Regions from separate parts of the Homo sapiens genome. Here region 2 is linked to region 1. Evidence: promoter capture Hi-C in 16 types of primary human blood cells and fetal thymus (Javierre and others, 2016). All regions are on one chromosome and are shown on one strand. Each heading gives the region's core, a stretch centred on a gene start or on the middle of the fragment in contact. The rest is flanking DNA. Distances are from core to core; before and after follow the strand shown.

Region 1 (6,240 bases), core at 939-3,438:
TTGCCTTATATTCATGTATAAACCTTGGTTTCCGTATTTGGGCTGTTAGTAAAATAAGACAAAAATAAAACAAGGAAAAATCAATGTCATGAAGAACTAAAACTAAGCCTAAAGCATGATGTTTATCTGTATATTACTCAATAGGCACTGCTACTGGGCTACGAATGTGAATGTGCCATGGTCCTCGTCCTCAGTAAGTTCCCTGTGTAATAGTGGCGGCAGGTAAACCACAGATCAACTAAAACTAAGCCTAAAGCATGATGTTTATCTATACATTACTCAATAGGCACTGTTATTGGGCTACGAATGTGAATGTGAATGTGAATGCTGACATGGTCCTTGTCTTCAGTAAGTTCCCTGTGTAATAGTGGCGGCAGGTAAACTACAGATCAACTAAAACTAAGCCTAAAGCATGATGTTTATCTACACTCAATAGGCACTTGTTACTGGGCTACGAATGTGAATGTGACATGGTCCTCGTCCTCAGTAAGTTCCCTGTGTAATAGTGGCGGCAGGTAAACTACAGATCAACTAAAACTAAGCCTAAAGCATGATGTTTATCTACACTCAATAGGCACTTGTTACTGGGCCACGAATGTGAATGTGACATGGTCCTCGTCCTCAGTAAGTTCCCTGTGTAATAGTGGCGGCAGGTAAACTACAGGCAACTAAACTACAGGTCACTTTTCTCACAAAAGTGAGAATACAGTTCCTAGACTACAAGGGGGAATGTTTAAGTTGGATAGATAATTTAGAGCTAGCCCTTTAAGGGATAAAGATAATTTAAAGGATGGATGGAGAATTCTAGGCCGAGGGACTAACAGATATTGAGTCCCTACATTAATTACTATAAAAATAAATCAAAGAAGATTCTTACATGAACCTATGCAGGTAAATTCAGATTTTTTTCCCCCTGGTGGATTTGCTCTGAGTTGAGGTAATGAGAGCTAACATTGATTCAGTGCCTGCTATGTTTTGCACTGTTAGGTACTTTACATGTTATCTCATGTAATACCTCTTTAAACCTCATTTTACAACTAAAATTAAATGACAGCTAGGAGCTAGGAAATGGCAAAGTTACGATTCCAAGTCTGGACTGGTTGTCCACAAAAGCCCCTGCTCTTGCCATAATGATGCCACTTCTTTCAAAGAATTCAGAATTTTCTTCACAGCTTTAAAAATGCATAGATTCTGAAGCCTCTCACTTCCTTCCAATTAGTTGCCTACCTAGAAAGTTATTTCCTCCACTTGAGCTCATCACCCCTTCTTAGCGCTCCTTTGGATTACTGTAATTTCTTTTTCTTTGACCTCACCTTTCGTCTGATGGATTAGTGTAATCTTTCCCAAATTTGTTAATCTGAAGAATTCAGGAGCTTCTCAAAATGCAGGTTCCCAAGCCATGCTCCAGGACATCGATTCAGAATTGGATCAAGGCCTAGAATCTGTGTTTTTAACAAGCATTTGACTCAAGGGTATCAAATTGGAGGAAGCACTGAGTTGGTGGACTACCTTAATTGATCTACCCATTTTCAGTCTCTTCTGCCAACCCATTCGCTCCACCCCACCCCCAGTCCGTTTTTCCGTTTTGCCCTCAAGGTCCCTGAAGACTTCCATATCATTTCGCATTGTTTTATTTGGGGCACTGTGCCGCACTACCTGGGCCCACAGCAGGCGCGCAATATTTACTGACAAATACAACCCACGAGGTAGTTCCTATTATTACCCTTCAATTTGAAATTGAGAATAAAACAGAAGTCGACAAGTTGAGGTAGCTTGTGACATCAGTATTTCGTATTTAATCCAGAAAGCACTGCTTCAACGCCCAGTGCGTGCAAGGTTCCACTCTCGGGCCAGCGGTCCTCTCCCAAAGCCCGTTCTTCCTAAGTGTGCGGCCGCCATCCAGGACACGCCACGCTCGTAAAAGGTCACCTGAAGCATCTACCCTCCACGCTCAAGAGGTAGGCGGAGGAGCGCGCCCTTTTCTCCAAAATGGCTGAGCAGGGTCACGTGGGCTCGGGGGCGGGGCCGGTGCGCTCGCCGGAGCCTGGAAGTGGGTCACGTGGCTCAGACGGGGGCGGTAGCTGTGGGGGCGTGGCCGTCACACGGCGCGATCCGTCTGGGCAGCGGCTCTTCGGGGGCCACGCCCTCCGGGCCCTGGGGGCCTAGCGCGCGACGGTGGGGTGGAGCTAGCCTCGTGACCTTTTACCCCAACATGGCTGCGCCCGTGGGACCGGTGAAGTTCTGGCGACCCGGTAAGGCCCTTGGTGGAACGCTGGGCAGATGCGGCGGCCTGACTTCGGTCTTGGCGCCGCGGCCGGCGCCCTGGGGCCAGCAGACCTGCTCGCAGGCCTGACCTCGGCGAGCTGGGCGCTGCCGCCTCTGTGCGGGGGGAGCTCTGGCTCAGGCTCCCCAGTGGTCCCGAGGGATTTGGGGGTGCTCCCCTAGCGTGAGCAGAAACTCTTTGTGACCTTGTTAAAGTGGTCCAGCCTCCTCAGGCCTCGTCTTCCTCGTTACTGATGCTTGTCCTGCCCACCCCGCGAGATGGGGAATCCTAAAGCTCCCTCTCGTGTCTCGTTAGCGCCCTGGGGTTGCGCTGTGGCCCGACAGACAATGCTGCTCGCTGCTGGAGGCTTGCAAGCCCAAGTTATGGAGTCAGACTGTCCGGGTTCGAATTTTCGTCTCTGCCTTGTAGTAGGGTGACCTTGGGCGAGTCACTTAATGCCTCTGAGCCATGACTTCTTTACCTGTAAAGTGGGCAGAACAATAGCTTCTATGCTGTGGGCTTAAATGACAAGCAGAACGCGTTGTCAGACTTAGAATAAATGCTCAAAAAAAGGGAAAGTGTGTTATTTTCTTTTAGGATAATTGTTGTCCACTCCGAATGTCTACTAGAAAAGGGAACAGTCCTTCATATTGGCTGCCAGCCACTTCCTCTCTTACAGACTAACACGAATCACAATCACAAAATGCTTTACTTGTTTTGTCTTGATATTTACTCATTAATCAGGTTTTTACTGAATGTGCATATGCCAGACCGTACTAGATGCATTACTTCCTCTCTGCAAACAGTTTCTTGTAAAAAACAAAAGTTTTTAAATTACAGCTACCAGCTTGATTTTTTTCTACCACCTGCACCCCTGCAGGTCTGGATGTGCAAAGTATATTGCAGCAAAAATGAAATGACACCAAGAATGTAATATAAGCAAAGCTTTTAATTTTTCAGTGGTTCTCTGAAATTCTGACCATGCATATAAGTGATGTGAGAGATAAACCCAAGCAAGAGATATGTTTAATGCTTTTTAAAAATTTGTAGTCTGTCACTTGACAGTTTTATGGTTCAGCATTTCAAGTCATCAGCCAATTATCCATCCTGAGTTTTATTTGCATCCAAAACTAGGAACTTACTAAGTAATGAATACTTTTAATTTATTCACGCTTTTAGTAACAGGTGAAAGTGTTAGGTATAATAAAGAGCTGAATTAATTGTTTGAAATCAGACCAGGGTACTATTTTGGTTAAAGAACGTGGAATTACTCTTAAGAGTTCTATTTCATTATTTAGTTCATCCATTGAGGGTACACTTATTGAAAACCTAATCCTGTGTTCAGGAGACAAATACAGATGCTCAGGGCTCTGCTCTCAAGTTACTGTCTCTCTCTTAATTGAATATAAAGTTAGATGTCCTCTAGAAGAGATTTTACAATGAGACAGAGTAAGGTGGTGGTAAAGAAGATGAGCTCTAGAGTCAGACTGCAGTGCCCATCATGTCTACCACTTACTAAGTTGATGACTTGATAGTCACTTAAATTCTCAAAGTCTCAGTTACTCCATCTGTAAATTGGGTATAATACCTACCCTACCCAAAGTAGTGTTGTGAGGTTTAAATGAGAATAACACACAACAGGATCTTGGCACTAGATAGGTTACTATTATAATTATATGGAAGTATGGAAGAGGGAGGGAAAGTTGAATGTATGGATAAGAAATACTTCATTAAGGTGGTATTTTTGGAGTGAACATTAAAGGATGAATAAGGTTTTGTTTCATAGAGAAATGGAACTCGAAGCAAAGGGTGCAGCATGAACAAAGGCAGAATGGGATTTGTGCCTTTAGAATGTCCAGAAAGCCAAAATAACAGAGCAGTGTGATAGTGTTAAGTGCTAGGGTATATTTTGGGGTATGACAGGAGATGAAGCTAGAAAAGTAGGTAAGGGCCTCATTGTGAAAGGTCTTCATGACAAGTTAAAAAGTTTAGACTTCACTGTTTTTTTGTTTTCTTTCTTTTTTTTTTTTGAGATGGAGTCTGGCTCAGCCGCCCAGGCTGGAGTGCAGTGGCGCAATCTCGGCTCACTGGAACTTCCACCTCCCAGGTTCAAGCGATTCTCCTGCCTCAGCCTCCTGAGTAGCTGGGACTACAGGTGTGTGCCACCACACCTAGCTAATTTTTGTATTTTTAGTAGAGATGGAGTTTCAGCATGGTGGCCAGGATGATCTCAATCTTTTGATCCCGTGATCTGCCCACCTCGGCCTCCCAAAGTGTTGGGATTACAGGCGTGAGCCACTGGGCCTGGCCTGACTTCAGTGTTTTTAAGCAGGAACAAATCAGGTTTACTTTAGAAAGATAACACTGGCAGTGGAGTAGAGAGTGGATGGAGGAGGAAATTAGAGAAGGTACTAGTGAAATCCAGGAGGGATGTTAAAAACCTTAATTCTGACCTGGGAGCTTAGAGGAGGTGCCTGTTGGAGAGACATTTTAGAGGAAGATGTGGGAGAAGATGAAGTCAGTAATAACTCAGATTTCTGGGCTGGGTGACTGTCTAGGTTAGTGATTCTCTAATTTTGCTTTATAGTTGAATCACTTGGGAAGCTCTGAAAAGTCCTGATGTGCACTTGCACCTCACACCAATAAATTAGAACTTTGGAGGCCTAGGAGCCAGGCATCAGTGTTTTTTAAAGTCTCTAAGGAATTCCAGCATGCATCAAAATTTGGGAACCACTGGTCTAGGTAAATTGTGTTGTCATTAGTTGACATGGGAATAGCTTTAGTACACAGTTATTGGGCCGTTGCTTTGTGTTAGTCACTTTCATTTACACATCTTATTAAACAGTCACAGTATCTCTGTGATGACAGTAATACTCTTATTTTAGTGAGGAAATTCAAGATATGAAGTAGGTTGTGGGAAATGCAAGGTGAAAGTCAGGGAAGCTGATATAAGGCTAGACATTCAAATCATGAACATATCCTGTAGGCCTGAGCCTGTGATTACAGAGGTCTTTCAGACAGTCTAAGTGAGTGAAGTTGCTTACTGGAGGTAATAGGGAGTGGTGGGGACTGTGGCAGAGTGTGCATACACTGGATAGTATGTACAGTGGAGATCTACAGTAGAGCTTACATATGCTTTCTAAAATAGGGAGTTGTACTCAGGTCCACCTAATTGTTATCATATGGGTTCAGAGTTGCCCAATTTTTTTTTTAAGAAGCCTAATATCCAGATCTGAATGGGAAAATTTTATGTGTTGTTTTAAATGAATGATTTAAAACATTTTAACAATAGCATGTCTGGGTACCTTAAGATACCCATTTGTGGTGTCTACCTTAGGAGTGTGACTTAAGGGCCTTGTATGACCTGCCTGAGAGTTTTCTACAAAAATCTTTTACTTAATTTGCAAGTACACGTGGATCCGAAGGGCCTGCCCATTTTCGTTTGCTCATTTGATAAATATTTCATGATTGTTGACCATGTGCATGACGAAAACTTTACAATAGGTTTTAAGCTTTTTTTGACTTGACCCACAGTAAGATATAGCACACATACACAACTGAAGAAAAAGTTGTTCATAAACAGTATTGCTTTCTGGAATGTGCTCTGATGCTTTCTATTCTATTTCATTATTTAAAAAGTGCTGGTATGACATACTACATTGATTTCATAACCCACTAATGGGTCACCAGTAAAATTTTTAAAAACCAAGTTAAAGGGAATGAGGAATTAGGGATATCAGCCTTGTTAAGATAGGGAAATGAAGATGTTCATAGTTTGCAAAAGTTATAAAGTTGTTACTCCCTTAAGCATAGAGCGTACGCTCAAGGAAAAATCAATCATAGGCAGCCACAGAGGGGTGTTTATAGAGGGAAAGCAGCCCTGATGTTCTGGTTTGGTTGAAGGAAGTCTTTTATGAGGAGAAGGTATACTGTTTATCAACTGACATAGCTGTTCTTATAAAAGAGCTCAGCTGGGC
Region 2 (6,369 bases), core at 737-3,236, 920 kb before region 1:
TTTTTTTTTTTTTTGAGACGGAGTTTTGCTCTTGTTGCCCAGGCTGGAGTGCAACAGCATGATCTAGGCTCACCACAACCTCTACCTCCCGGATTCAAGCGATTCTCCCACCTCAGCCTCCTGAGTAACTGGGATTACAGGCATGTGCCACCACGCCAGGCAAATTTTGTATTTTTAGTAGAGACGGGGTTTCTCCACGTTGGTCAGGCTGGTCTCAAACTCCCGACCTCAGGTGATCCGTCCATCTCGGCCTCCAAAAGTGCTGGGATGACAGGCATGAGCCACCACGCTCGGCGAAACCATTTTAAAATTGAAACCTAACTCAGTCTTTTTTTTTTTTTTTTGAGACAGAGTCTTGCTCTATTGCCCAAGCTGGAGTACAGTAGTGCAATCTCGGCTCACTGCAACCTCCACCTCCTGGGTTCAAGCGATTCTCCTGCCTCAGCCTCCTGAGTAGCTGGGACTACAGGTGCCCACCATCACACCCGGCTAATTTTTGTATCTTTAGTAGAGGTAGGGTTTCACCATGTTGGCCAGGCTGGTCTCAAACTCCTGACCTCAAATGATCCACCCACCTCGTCCTCCCAGAGTGCTGAGATTACAGGCATGAGCCACTGCGTCCGGCCAACTCAGTCTTTCATTCTGAAATATTTGATAATTAAAAGTGAGTTAGAAGTTGCTCATTTTTGCAGTAGAATAAATAAAAGCCCTAGTTTCAACATTAACACTGACTGCTTATCCTTTAGGAATTCTCTTTGGATTATCTTAATTTTTACTATCAATTAATTACCCTGGTTTAAACAACACAGCAATGAAGATGGCCCATTCTTTTTCTTTTTCTTTTTTTTTTTTCCGAAATGGTATTCCCAAACCTATTCCTTAGGTGGTCTTTTTAAACATATCTACTTGACCCCCCAGGTAGATAATACTTGTCTTAATGTTTTTTTAGGAGCAGCCCAGGGCAAAAGAATTGTGAATTGAGAATTTCTTTGGTGTAAGTTAAATTCTTTTCTTTTCTTTTTTTCAGCCAAATCAAATAGAAAGCTTACTTTTCTGTATTTAGCGAATGATGTCATCCAAAACAGTAAAAGGAAAGGACCTGAATTCACTAGAGAATTTGAATCTGTCCTTGTGGATGCTTTTTCTCATGTTGCCAGGTATGTTGTCTGTTTTTTGGATTTGTTTTTAAATTCATTGCCTTTCCCACCTTTTTGTTCTTTCCTTTTCTGTGATAGCCTTTGTAAATTGACAACTTCCTACTTTACAGAGAGTTGTGGAGGCCGAATTGTGGTTTTATGTTTTGTTGAGCCCTCAAGAACTATCGAGACATGTAAACATTCTGATACATTTGAGAGATTCAGCCTAGCATTATCTTTCTTCTAGATATATTCATTTTCATTTTTTGAATTTATTTCTTGGTTATGGTATTTTCCTTGGTTTGGTTGAGTTGTCTCATCAGCTTATGATCAAAAAACAAAGCTAACTAGTAAGGGAACCTTTTAGTAACATAACTTAATAGCAAGAAATTAATTGCCAAATGCCTTCCTTTTTATTTCCTTCTGGATTTCTAGATGTCTAGTTTACTAAAAATAGTAGGCATTACTGTAACTGCAATAATAGTAATTATTAGTGTAGAAAGTAGGTGTTTGCTCTGGCTATATTGTATTAAGCCTGGTGCTGTTGTGTTTTGTGGCAGAGAGGAGTGGCACTCATACAACTAATACCATAGAAAGCATACATTGGATTAAAAGTTTTATAAATTACTTTACTTCATGTAAAAACAAAAGCTTTCTGTGGGCTTAAATTAGGTGCCCAGGAAAAGCAAAGAAAAACTATCGTTCATTAGAATATTATGTTTATAAGTAAATATATAAACAGATATTTGCAAAAGGAATTGGGAAACATGAATGGGAGACTAGTAGGTTAAACATAAATTGTTACTAGGTCTAAAATATAGTGAAAGGCCTTAAATGAGAAATGAAGTCCTGCTTTCATTGCAGGATTTGAAAAGTTTGAAGGAATAAAATTAGAAATCCAAGAGAAAGAAATGACACCTAGCTTTCTAGAGATGAAAAAGATGGTTTTTGTGGATAAGTTACATAACTGGCTCACCTTTTGATCAACATGGGCGCAAGTAGCAAAATGTGTTATTAACTTGAAAAAAATACTGAATCTTCATAACAGAGTAAGCTTAGAACAGACTACTAGAGGAGCTATCTGAAATAGACAGATTTTCTTGCTTTGATGAGATTTAGTTCACAGTTGCTTAGAAATTGATGGTAGCTCTGCCTCAGACACTATGTGAGTGACCTTGGATGTGTTACTTAACTTTTTGAGCCCAAATTTCCTAACTGGCTAAAGGGGGAGGATACCACTCCCCCTCATAAGAGTTGTGAGGGTAAAGACAGACAATATGTTTAAAAGTATGTAGTACAATGCCTGTTCCACATTTGCTCATTCATTGGATCATTTGTTTTTTCCTATATTCCAGGCACCTAGTAAAGTGTCTGGCACAGAGCTGCTGAGTTATGTAGCTTGAAGGAATACCATTTATATAGCCTCCATGTAAGTGGTGTCCCAGGAGCTGGGCAACATTATGGTCTGCCCTGACACAGTAGGCGTTCAGTAAATATTTGTTAAATGAGTTAATTAATGTTAACTCATTATGGAAGAGATTTGGTCTAGGGAGTTGGCTGGAATGATTTCTTGTAGGGATAGTAAACATAACAGTGTTATTAAAAAATTCCAGCCTGGGCAGCATAGTGAGACCCTGTGTCTACAAAAAATTTTTTAAAAATTAGCCAGGCATGGTGGTGTGCACCTGTAGTCCTAGCTACTTGGGAGGCTGAGGCAGGGGGATTGCTTGAGCCCAGGAGTTCAAAGCTGTAGTGAGCTATAATCATACCACTGCACTCCAGGTTTAGCAACAGAGCATGACCCTGTCTCTAAATTACAAACAGACAAACGATCTGTAATCTTTAGCTGTCCTGAAACCAAAAAGTAAATAGAAAGGGGTGGAAAAGGGGGTGGGCAACACCAGGGTTAAAAATTCCTTTTTTCTTGGGAACACCTTAAAAACTAGCCAGGTTTTAGGTGTCTTGGCAGATTCAGTGGCAGTGTGAGGAAGATAAACCTGGTCCTTCTCAATAAAATAGCCCGAATTCCTTTCTGTTTGCATTCTGGTTCTTTTAAGATTCTGCTTGGGTATTACATTCAGGATACCCATGTTTCCAATCTCCTTTCTTATACCCCATTATTGGGACAGAAAGTCCAACAGTTCTGCTTCAACCGTGATGCAGCTCGTCCACAGTAGGAGTAGCCTAATTAACATATACTTTCTGTGTGCTTTTTCTGTGGTCAGTTGATGAACAAAGATAGTTGACCCATTACTGTTGACTAAATTGATGAGGGATATTTTTATGATAAAAGACACCTCCACACCCAAAACAAACAAACAGTAAAAAAAACTCTCAAGTCAGAGAAAGCTGCCAAGTTCATAGGATAGATTTGATTTGAATAGCAGTTTAATTAACCAGACTGCAAACTTGCTTTTCATACAAGTGCCTTGTTTTCTTCCCAGTGAGGAGACAGCTGTCCATGTCATTTTTCATTCAACATGTATTGGAGTGCCTTCTATGTGCCAAGTATGGATCCAGACACGGGGGGAGCAGCAGTGAACAAGGCAGGCAAAGACAATTAAATGAGCAAGATACTTTCAGAGCAGGACAATATGGACATAGTAAAATGGAGTGATGTTCTAGAGTAGGATCTCACAGGTAGTGTGGTTCAGGAAGGCCTCTAAGGAAATGACATTTGCGGTAATCATGCGAAGCGGGAGCAGCTATTAAGAAAAACTTAAGGCAGAGATCATCTTGGCCTTCTAAGAGAAACAGAATGAAGGCTGGTGTGGTTAGAATATAGTGCACAAAGGGAAAAGTGATATCCAGATGAGGTCCGAGAGGTGGACATGCAGCAGTCACATACACCCTGTAAGTCTTGGAAGTTAGGATTTTTTTCTCATGGGATGTCATTGAAGAGTTTTAACCAGGGGAATGATATATTCCAATATATTCCAACATACATTTTTAAAACATCCCTCTTTAAAAATGGCTTAGTGTAGAGGGATGGATTGTAAAGGCCAAGGGAGGGGCGGGGACATGAGTTTGGAGGATATTGCTGTGATGCAGGCTAGAGGTGACATTGCCTAGGACTCAGAAGCAATGGGAAGATACTAATAGCTTCCATTTATTGAGTGCTTCCTTCGTGGGAGGATCCCCACCTCTCCAGTGTAAAACTGATAGGATTTATAGGCGTTGAGTGGGAGCTGGTAGTAAGTGAAAAGAGAAATCAAAGACGATTTCTAGGTTTTTGATGTAAGGAATGACTGATGGTGCCCTTTACTGAAGTGAAGATTGGGGAAAAGATTTGGTGGAGGAAATCACGAGTTTTGTTTTGGCCAGGCCGAGTGTGAGGTGGCTAGTGAATATTCCAAGGAGTGATGCCAAATAGGCAGGTGGATAAAATAGTCTGAAGCTCAGTAGAGACTTGATTTCTGGAGACATAAATTTGAGAGTTACCCACATGATATTTACTTATTGTTGTGGGCCCCAAGACCACTCCCAGGTTTGGTGATTCCCTAGAATGACTCACAGGGCTCATCATGTAGTCATAGTCATGGCAGTGATTCATTACAGCTAAAGGATCCAAAGCAGCAGCAGCAGCAGAGGGTGATGTGCATGCAGTACCCGCAGCAGACTGGAGCGCTCTGGGTATAAGCTTCCGAGTCCTCTCTCAGTGTTATTCCACAAACACGCTTAATTCCTCTAGCACTGAGTTGTGATGTGTATGATGTGTAACCTACCAGGAAAGCTCATTAAAGACTCTGTGCCCAGAGTTTTTATTGGATTGGTCATGTAGACACCCTCTGCCAAAATTCTAAGCTCCCAGAAATAAATCAGGTGTTCATTTTTTTTTTTTTTTTTTTGAGACGGAGTCTCACTCTGTCGCCCAGGCTGGAGTGCAGTGGCTTGGTCTTGGCTCACTGCAAGCTCCGCCTCTCGGGTTCATGCCATTCTCCTGCCTCAGCCTCCCAAGTAGCTGGGACTACAGGCGCCCGCCATGATGCCCGGCTAATTTTTTGTATTTTTTAGTAGAGACGGAGTTTCACCATGTTAGCCAGGATGGTCTTGATCTCCTGACCTTGTGATCTGCCCGCCTTGGCCTCTCAAAGTGCTGGGATTACAGGCGTCAGCCACCGCGCCAGGCTCAGGTGTTCATTAAGAACCGTATTGCTTGCACAAACAATTTAGGCCCAGTAAACCACCCTTACCAGTTAGGAAATGGTAGGGACACTCGGAAATCCCAAGTTCCCAGACCACTTCCCTAAGGGTAGCAGTCTGGCCTTCTGTGTTAACTCCTTTCTGAACCAGCTTTACATGAGGTACTGTTGGAAGTGTAGGGAATACTTAGAATTCCTGCCCTTAGTAGGCCTACCATAGGCCTGCTGTGCATGAGATAAGACAGAGTTGTACAAATTACTGTGGTTGTACTGAAAAAGTGCCATAGAACTGTAGAGGAAGAAAAGGCCCCCAAGGCTGGCTTTGCAGGGACTCAGGTGTCCAGCTGACACGTCAAGCAGCCAATTCTGTTTGTGTGTATCATATACATTTTTCACTCTTAAAGGTCAGTTTTGCTATCTGTATTGAAAAATAAAGTGATTGAATTTGTTATTAATCAGAATTAAAATATGAAGTGTTCAACGTAATATTAAGTTGTGTATGTAATTATTTGCCATCTTCCACTTTATTCATAGATTGTTGGCAAAGATTGTTCAGTCTTTTTTTCCACTTAAAGATTTCTCAGTTTAGATTGGAGTTAGTACAACCTGAAAATATTTCTCTTTCTGTTATAAAACGGCTTTATTACTTTGGTTGTATCTAATTCCAGATGCCAAAGTGACTTCCATTTCGCTGGAGCTACTTCCTTCAAAACCTAATCAGTAGAAAGATTTCTTGAATATTTTATGTATAACTTTGAAACTTATCTAGCAAAACTTTGATTTACCACAATGTTCAAGGAAATATCTGTCCTGGTTAGTTATATTCACTAATTAAACTAGAACCCCCCTTTTGGCCTTTAGTAGTAAAAGCCTTTTGAAAATGTTTTGTGGTTATAACAGGTTTGAGCATCATTTTCCACTGTGCCTGAAACTGTACACAAAACCAGTCTTAGCCTGAATGGAGTCCCAAGTATCTCCAGGAATGGTGGGTGGTGGGTGTGTGTTGTGATACCCACCTACTTTTAAACTAAGTCCTTGATAAGAATTTATTCTCGAGACTGGTTTCTCTTTCTTTTAAGCGAACAGAGAAT

The links. Contacts are between HindIII fragments. The CHiCAGO score rates a contact against its expected background, and 5 or more counts as called.
Region 2: a contact is called between a fragment that was not itself captured here and the fragment with the promoter of DHX35 in region 1, in 1 of 17 cell types (activated CD4 T cells). The highest score is 5.7, in activated CD4 T cells.

The regions. Positions count from the first base shown.
Region 1 is chr20:38,960,156-38,966,395 of GRCh38, forward strand. It overlaps DHX35 (DEAH-box helicase 35), which reads left to right and starts at 2,189. Exons shown (of 22, transcript NM_021931.4): 1 at 2,189-2,252. The coding sequence starts at 2,213. RefSeq lists a silencer at 2,054-2,173 and an enhancer at 2,214-2,523. The HindIII fragment of the contact is 4,420 bases long and covers 1-3,206 here.
Region 2 is chr20:38,039,408-38,045,776 of GRCh38, forward strand. RPRD1B (regulation of nuclear pre-mRNA domain containing 1B) reads left to right here. Exons shown (of 7, transcript NM_021215.4): 2 at 1,028-1,157. Among named protein-coding and RNA genes, the nearest start is that of RPRD1B, 8.8 kb to the left of the region's middle. The HindIII fragment of the contact is 403 bases long and covers 1,786-2,188 here.